3 separate regions of the Homo sapiens genome follow, and regions 2 and 3 are each linked to region 1. The links are contacts of gene promoters, found by promoter capture Hi-C in blood cells and fetal thymus (Javierre and others, 2016). All regions are on one chromosome and are shown on one strand. Each heading gives the region's core, a stretch centred on a gene start or on the middle of the fragment in contact. The rest is flanking DNA. Distances are from core to core; before and after follow the strand shown.

What was found. The method cuts DNA at HindIII sites, captures the fragments that hold promoters and counts their contacts. A CHiCAGO score of 5 or more calls a contact.
Region 2: a contact is called between a fragment that was not itself captured here and the fragment with the promoter of LINC03033 in region 1, in 2 of 17 cell types (activated CD4 T cells and neutrophils). The highest score is 8.1, in activated CD4 T cells.
Region 3: a contact is called between a fragment that was not itself captured here and the fragment with the promoter of LINC03033 in region 1, in 7 of 17 cell types (neutrophils, monocytes, activated CD4 T cells and 4 more). The highest score is 17.5, in neutrophils.

What each region holds. Positions count from the first base shown.
Region 1 is chr14:61,569,131-61,571,934 of GRCh38, forward strand. LINC03033 (long intergenic non-protein coding RNA 3033) reads left to right here and starts at 1,410. Exons shown (of 3, transcript NR_039985.1): 1 at 1,410-1,630. LINC01303 (long intergenic non-protein coding RNA 1303) reads right to left here and starts at 1,523. Exons shown (of 5, transcript NR_110416.1): 1 at 1,356-1,523; 2 at 414-547. RefSeq lists an enhancer at 1-116 and a silencer at 508-700. The HindIII fragment of the contact is 753 bases long and covers 1,077-1,829 here.
Region 2 is chr14:61,445,493-61,448,296 of GRCh38, forward strand. It overlaps PRKCH (protein kinase C eta), which reads left to right. Exons shown (of 14, transcript NM_006255.5): 4 at 200-234. Among named protein-coding and RNA genes, the nearest start is that of PRKCH-AS2, 99 kb to the right of the region's middle. The HindIII fragment of the contact is 6,096 bases long and covers 1-2,804 here.
Region 3 is chr14:61,491,700-61,494,503 of GRCh38, forward strand. The region is part of intron 10 of PRKCH (protein kinase C eta); the gene reads left to right. Among named protein-coding and RNA genes, the nearest start is that of PRKCH-AS2, 52 kb to the right of the region's middle. The HindIII fragment of the contact is 5,736 bases long and covers 1-2,804 here.

The DNA.
Region 1 (2,804 bases), core at 160-2,659:
TGACTGCAGCTCGGCTTCTGCTCTGTAAAATGGGGCTGTTGCTAGCTGAGCCTCTTCTGCCTCTGGTAGAAAATGATTCCAAGTGGCTGCCCTGTCCACCCTAATCCCATGGCCCGAACTTGATGTCTGCTGCTTCTAGAAGCCTAGTGCTCCAAATATCTGCTCTGGGAGGGACTTGCAGATGATCCTGATTGGAAATGAGGCTGATTAACCTTTTGTGTATCATTGACTCTAGGACAATCTGTTGAAACCTAGGGGCTCTTACCCTAGACAAATTAACACACCAGCCAGATACAGCTTACAAGGGCAGAGAGTTGCTGGTTTGAACCACAGACCCCTGGTTTAACATCTGTAATCTAGTCAACCCCTCCTCTTTCTTGAAGGCTGAACCAAACACGAAGGGTTTTCCCCACCTTCCAATCCTCATACATGCAGACACCCCCTTTTCCTGCTTTCTCCTTCAGTCATCTTCCTCACCATCCCCCATGCTTGGGCACTCTCAGGAGGGAAATTGTCCTATAAATATCTGTAAAAGGCATGGTATGTCCTGTAGCAGAGAAAGCAAAAAATAAAAATATAATTCCTCCACCCCTGGCATGGCACGTGCAGAGCTCTGCCTGATCCTTCTCTCCCACAAGCCTCGGGGGTGGGTAAACAAAAGTGAGAGGTGAAGCTGCTGCAGCGAAGTACCCCTTCAAAATCTTCAGTACCCTTCAGAGCCAGCGCTGTCATCACTATCACATAAACTGTACAACTCCAACGTCAACCAGCAGCCGCCTGGCTGGCAGCAGGAAGAGCCAATGCAATTTTGCACAGTGGCTTGCTTGCCCAAGGTATTGCCTGGCAAATGGGCTTCTTGTGCAATGGGGAACCACAGGGAGGGGCCTCTTAAATGTACCTCAAAGAAACAGCTCTAACAATGGATGATTCAACAGGCTAGTAATTGGCGCTCACTCTTACCACATTGTTTTGATAAAACGACATAGCCCAACTGGGGATATGAAGGCAGTAAGTAGAAAAGCTAACCTCTTGCTACTCAAATTGTGGCTGAGAACCAGCGACATCCCATCACCAGAAGCTTTATAGAAAAGCCAGGCTCTGTCCCAGACCTATTGAAAGGAGATCTGCATTTTAACATGATTGCGAGAGGATCCACATCTTAAAGTTTCAGAGGCCTAATCCAAAGTCTTCTGATAATGATCATTAGAGTCCCAGCCACCCCCGACTTCCCCCTGGGAAAACCACAACAAATAGAACAAATTCCTCCAAGCTCTGCTCATAAGAAGAACCCACAACCCACAGACACCCCCTCACTCAACTAGAGACCTCACCCACCTGTTTGCAGAGTCACCCACCTTGGGCTACTTCTTTTCTACTATTTAATCTTCTGGGAAAACAGAGGTCTTCTATTTGGAGATAAAAATGACAAAGGAGAACCTCCTGAACAGCATCCAGTTTGCTTTTAGCTTTAGCCATCTCTCTGACCTCAGTGCTGCTGGACTCAGTTCCAAGATCTAACTGTCAAATGCTTTAGGGGAAACGGGAAGAGAAGTCCCTGGAGTAACCCATGTGCGCAGCCTGGCACTGTTTTCACTTGCCTTTGGAAATGAAGGTGCAGAAACCATGGGAGGTAAGGAGGGCACAGACTAGTGACTTCCAGTGTGGGACAGAGGGGAAAAGATGGAAGAGAAGTGCAGAAAACCACTCGGGAAAAGACAGGCTGGAGTGATGCCTGCTGAGACAGGGCCCTGATCTCCCAGGACTTCCCTTTCTGCCTGTTCTGTAGAAATGTCTCGGGTTTTGTGGTTTAGGAAAAGAGATGCTTAGCAAGCTTGTAGAAAATGTAATGTGGGCACTTTGTTGCTGTCCTGGCTTTTAAAGGACTCTGAAGCAGATCAGCTTCAAGGTATTGGCTATTCTGTTTGCAGCCTTAGAAAGACATCCTTGATGTTTTATTGTTCTGCCTTTGCTAAGAGCTGGAAACTCTCCCTGGGGAAATGGCTCACCTTGAAAGAGATGCTATCGTAGCTGAAAATGTTTTAGCTTCACTTCCAATCTCTGGTTCCTTGTGGGAAGTAACTGCTGCTGTGGTATATATGCCCTGTGCCTTTTATTTTTACCATCTTTACCTCGGTGGACACAGCTGGTTGAAACTCAGTAAAACTTATGCTTCCATGGAGATTGATTCAGACAACAGGAAAAATAAGTGTAGAAAAAAACTGCACAGTACAAGGGCTAGATTCAGGTTGTAGAACAAAGTGATTATTACTTAGAATCCTGGATTAGCAAGAGAATAAGAAAGATGCTGAGATTACCTAGTGTTATCACCATCCACGTGAAACGTAGAATAAAACTTTTTCCCCACCACATAGATATTGGGCAGTTTATTATAGATGCTACAAAGGGATTTATTATATTTTTCCCAAAATGGTTAATTAGAGGCATCCCAAATTACAACTCCTTTAGCATAACTCCCAGCTCCATGCAGCCTACTTACTAAGGACCCAGCTACTGACAGCTCAGCTCTTTGCCAATCCAACTTTTTTTCCCCATATGCTCAAACTTTTCTTCTCCAAGAAGACTTCCTGAATGATCCCAATTCATAGGGATCTCATCCTTAATGCAGGGGAAATTCACTGTTCTGGAGTAGTCTACCATACCATCACGCTCTTCTTTTTGTGTAATCCTGGATTTCTTCTCCAGTTGTTTTATTCTTGCCTGTCTACACAGATAGATCAGTAGCCTTCAATAGTCTGCATCTCCTGTTATCTTGCAGCCTCCTACTATAAACAGTAGGTGCTTTA
Region 2 (2,804 bases), core at 143-2,642, 120 kb before region 1:
GCACATTCTAATCCAGCACATGGTTTTTTCTGGTGTCTCATAGTAACAAACAATGGCTCAGAAAGCACATGATCTTTGCTTCTTCCCTGAAATTGTGTTTTTCATAAAGGAGGAGAGGATGAAATTTGTTTTCCTTAAGGACTATAAGAGGGTTATTGCTGAAATACTTGACTGATGGTAGTTTTCTTCTCTTCAACAGGGGAGTGTTTGGGAAACAGGGTTATCAGTGCCAAGGTAAGGAAACATTTTTAAAACCATGTTTCATTTTGTTCCTATGTTAAAAGAAATGATTATACCAAGAGAAAACAGGGTATCTTCCCTTAATATTGTGATAAATAACTCTCTGTAGGTCAAAGGAAACCCCTGTGTAGATACAACTCTTTAGTTTGGTGAGATCTTGGCCATATTTTAGACAATGTAAAGGGGACGTTTTTATTTCTAAAGCCAGGATACCTAATAAATTTTCATTGTTTAAAGTCTTGTCTCTGCAGTAACATGAGAGTACTAAAAGGTAATGTGATTTTGTGAGCATACTCTTAAATTTTGAAGATAAACTTTTGTTTTTTACAATCCTATTGATAATAGATAGGGATGAAAAGTAGCACACTGCTGTTTTCTCTTTTTCCCCGTCCAGGGAACATAAGCTATTATCCAAGTTGTTTTTTGAAATGTTATGATTTCAAAAAAAAAAAAAAAAAGTGAGAAATGTTCAAAGTTAAGCTGTCAGTGATCTTGTAAGTTACTACATGTTATATTTAGTTTTCACAATCTAAGATGAAACCAATTTACTAGTGTTTCTAGCATAATTGGAAAGAAATACAATGGCAGGAATGGAAGAAGAGCCCTCAGTCAGGTGGTTTAGCCAGGCCCATCAGGCTTGCCTGTCATTTGGGTTCCCCCTTAACCTTTGACATGAGTATCATCACATAGTTTATACACATGGTACCTGTTTCACTATGTGGATGATTGATAAAATAGCACCACATATCCTAGAGCAGTAGCCTATGTGTGGATAAGAAAATCTCACCTTCTCTTCTGGAAGATGTGAGGTAAAACATTACTTCCCTTGGATGGACTGAATAAGACATACTCTTGGATCTAATTTTGACTTTACTATGTATGAACAATTCCATTGAACTTTCAAAGTTAGGAAAAAACAAATATATAATCAATATGACAGCAATAATTGACCTGTATGCTGTTAATCTCAGTCCCAAGTGAGAAGACAGTTCACAAGCCAGAATCGCTGTCACTTTGTGGCATGGGCCTGTGAGCACAGGAATATGCCCTGCAGTCCATGGTAGCCCATCTTATGCACACCAAGATAAGTTGAGAAGCTCTGGATAAACAAGATTATGGTTTTGAGTTTAAAACATGGGATTTAAGATACATCTCTATTGTTATTTTATTTCTTTTTCTCTTTGTCCTATAGTGCCTGGATATTTGATGGCCTGATTTTCAGTGGGTCACCTGCTATGTAAAGAGCAGGGAAGACTATTAGTTAGGAGACATGCAGACACCACTTTGGTGATGTCTCCCTAAGGCATATAAAACCAAATGCCTGGTTGGAGAGAGGTATGCCATTCTAACACTGATCAAAAGCAAACTGGCATAGGTATTTCAGACAGAGCAGACTTCAGAAAAAGGAAAATTATCAGGAATAAAGAGGGGACAACAATAAAGGGGTCAGTTTTCCAAGAAGACTTAACATTTTTATTTGTTTTGTTTTATTTAAAGACCAGTGTAGTAGTACATAACAATTTTTAACATGTATGTATGTACCTAGCAACAGGAATCAAAATACATGGGACAAACTGATAGAATCACAAGGAAAAATGAACAAATCCACTTCTATAGTTGGAGACTTCAATATCTCAGTAATTGATAGATCCAGCAGGCAGGGAATCAGTAGGGATATAGGTGATCTAAACAGCATTATCACAACTAGGTGAAATTGACGTTTATAGAATACTTCATCCAACAACAGCAGTTTTCACATTCTTCTCGGGCTCACAGGGGACATTTACCAACATAGACCACATTCTGGGCCATAAAACATACCTTACCAAATTTAAAAGAAGAGAAACCATAAACGGTATCTTCTTAGACCACAATGGAATTAAACTAGAAATCAATTACTGTAAGATAGCTGGAAAATCCCCAAATATTGGAAGGTTAAATGTCACATTCTAAGTAACACATGGGTCAAAGAAGAAGACTCAAGAGAACATAAAAAATATTTAGAGTCAAGTGAAAATGAAAATATAACTTATAAAAATATGTGTGATCCAGCAAAAGCAGTGCTCAGATGGGAATGTATATATCATTAAATGCATACAGTAGGAAAGTAGAAAGATCTAAAACCAAGATTCGAAATTTCCACCTTAGGAAACTAGAGAAGGAAGATAAATTTAAGCCTCAAGCGAGCATAAGAAAAGAAATAATACAATTAGAACAGAAATCAGTGAAGTTGAAAATAGGAAAACAACAGAGAAAATCCATGAAATCAAATGCTGATTCTTTGAAAGGATTAATTGATAAGCCTTTACCAAGCTAACCAGGAAAAAACCAAATACCTCAAAAAATAAAGTATTTCTGTGTGAAGGATGGTTTTGAGATCCCCTCATATAAAAAGACCAGTTCTCTGGGCACTTTCAATTTGGTTCTCCTGAGAATTGAATCTGATGAAAGCTAGATTTGTTTTAAGGTATGATGCTATTTACTGACATGTCACCTCTCTTTATGTAGTTAATCCTAAAACCTTCCACATGTCTTGAAAGATCTTAAGATGATATACATTTTTA
Region 3 (2,804 bases), core at 129-2,628, 77 kb before region 1:
CCGTAGTGAAACTCATCAGCCACTGTTCTGCACCCTTGCATGGCCTCTGGAGATCTTTTAACAAGTATTTGTTGAGCGTCACCCTTCTGCCAAGGATATGGATGTAATGGTATGAGCAAAAACAAAAATACTCGCCAGTGGAGGGTATGATCCAGTGAGGGAGAAAGATGTCAATCAAATGATTATACCAATAAAAAGTAGCAACCATGACTAGTGCTATGAAGAGGAGAAATACAATGCAGTGAATGAGAACCTAGAATAGGGTGATTCTATCCAGTTAGGGAAAGATGGAAGATTTTTATAAGGAAGTGACTCTTGGGCTGAGGTCACGGTAAAGAGGGAAGGAAGGAACATTTGAGACAGAAGAAACAGCAAACGCAGATAGATGCCCAGTAACAGGAAGGAGTGTGGCAAGGTCAGGGGTTTTTAGAGCAGGCCAGCCTGGCTGGAGTCTAGGAAGCGTATCTTACTTCACTTGGCATTTTATTATCCTACAGTGTTCAGTCAGCTGATGACTTCAAGATTTTATTAAACACTCCTTGTAAATAATTTATTTGAAGGTTAGGTAAGGCCGGTCATGTTGCCAATCCCTGGAGGAGCCATCTATTCACAGTGAGTTCTCTGTGTCCAGGTCTGTGCATTTATACTCAACAATGGGTTTATAAAATATTAGAGCCAGAGGAGACCTCAAACGTTGCTAAGGGCCAAGTTATCTTTTACAGATGAGGGACTTCAGGTGTGAAACGTCCAAAAATTGTTTCTCATAGTGGATATTCTCTTCGGATGACTCATCTGCTGTTTGCTTTCCATCTCCAGGAAAACAAAAATATGGCTAGAAAATTTTGTTTCAGTCTTCAACTTACAGCTGGCATGAAGAGCAAACCAAGACATTTTGAGGCATTCAACCCTGTTTACTCCATTGCAGTGAGAAAAATCCAGTTGAGATCAGAACATATTTCCTGAGCTGCCACCTAGTGCCGGATGTTGCATTAGGAGGTGTAGATACAAGATGAGTAGATGAGATGTCTGCCCTTTGAGGCGCTTTCTGTGGGGTGAGAGAGATAGCCATTAATAAGTCATGGCAGCTGGGTTCCAAAATTGGAGTTTTCCCAGGGTATCTTGGGAGCAGACAGAATGGCCACTTGCCCTAAGATGGATGTTCAGGCAAACTTCCTGGAGGAGGTGATGCCTGAGCTGAGTGTGAAGAGTTAAAAGCTGAACAAAGATAAGGAGGGTGTTTAGGTAGGGGAGCAAGTTTGAGCAAAGCAGAGAAGTGTGGTGAATGTGTAGTTAAAGTGGAAAATGACAGGAACTTTGGTAGCACTGGAGCCTGAAGTTGGAGGCATGGGAAGAGGGAAGGCTAGAGGAGGCTGCAGAAATGAAGTATTAAGCACTTACTGTTCTTGAGATGTTTGAATTCTGGGTCACTTAGGACTTTGCTCCATTGCCTATCACAGGAAACATAAAAATGACAGTGGCTTAAGCCAGATGGAAACATAGTGCTCTCTCACATGAAAAGCCTGGAGGTAGGTAGTCCAGCCCCGCCATGGAAGCTCCGTGGAGTCATTTGCAACCCAGATTTCTGTGCTTTCTGTTCTGCTGTAGACAGGGTCACGTCCTTGTCTAAATGGTTGCTGAAGATCTAGGAATCATCTCTCTATTCCAATTCCATGTAGTAAGAAGGGCTAGAGGGCATTCCTCCAAACTGAGTCAGCTCCCTTTAAGGGGCCTCCTGGAATTCCACACAGTACTTACCATGGAATTGGCCAGAACTTGATCATATGGCTGAGTCTAGCTCCAGTGAAAGCCAAGAAATACAGTATTACAAGTGGCCATGTTCCAGCTAAAAATCAGCATTCCATTATTAAGAAGGGAAAGAATCATTATTTGATAGAAAACTTGCAGTGTCAGACACAAATTCCATGCCAGGGAGTCTGGGCTTTATGGAGCAGGTAACCTTTGAAGAATTCTCAGCAGGTCTTATGACATGAGTGGATTTATATTTTACTTTTACGTGCGGGTGGGGGGCATGGCATGTGTGGACATACCCATGGTAAGCAGCAGCCAGGTTGCAAGGGAGAGGTTCATTTTGAGGCAGTTGCAGAGTTCCAAGTAACAAGATAATGAGGACCTGAACTAAGACAGTGATGGTAGGGCTGATGAGAAAGGCATAAGAGATAATAGCAAGTAAAGCTGATAGGACTTAGTATTTGGGTGGATTCAGGGTAAAAAAGAAACCGGAAATCATTTCCAGGTGTTTAGCTAGAAGGTTGAGTGGATGGCAGTGCCATTAGCTAGGAGAGATCATGTGCCTAGGAAGAAGTCTAGGCAAAAGAGGAAGAAGTTTTAGAAAGGTTGTATGACAGGTGCCTGAGGTATACTCCAGTGGAGATGCTCCATGGATAGGGGCATAGGAGTCTGAAGCTCAGTAAAGAGGATGGGCTGAATTAAATATTTGGAAGTCATCAGGACATAGCTATTAGTTGAGACCACGAGACTGAATGAGATCACCCAATAGGAGTCTCTTAAATGGAACAGTGTGAGTCAAGGACAGAACCCTGGGGAACCAGACTCCATTAGAAATCTGCCTAAATTTGGCTCCAGGGTTATAGAAACAATTGGTATGTTCATCATTTAGAGTAAGTATCCCCAAAGTGCCAGTGTATTAAAAATATAATTCCATAAAAGTATAGAAAAAGATCACTTACTTTAGAGTATGTGTGTGACGCTACATATATTCTTCCTACTGAAAGAATGCTGGACATGGTTTTCAGAAGCCCTGCATGCTAGACCCAGCCCTGGTC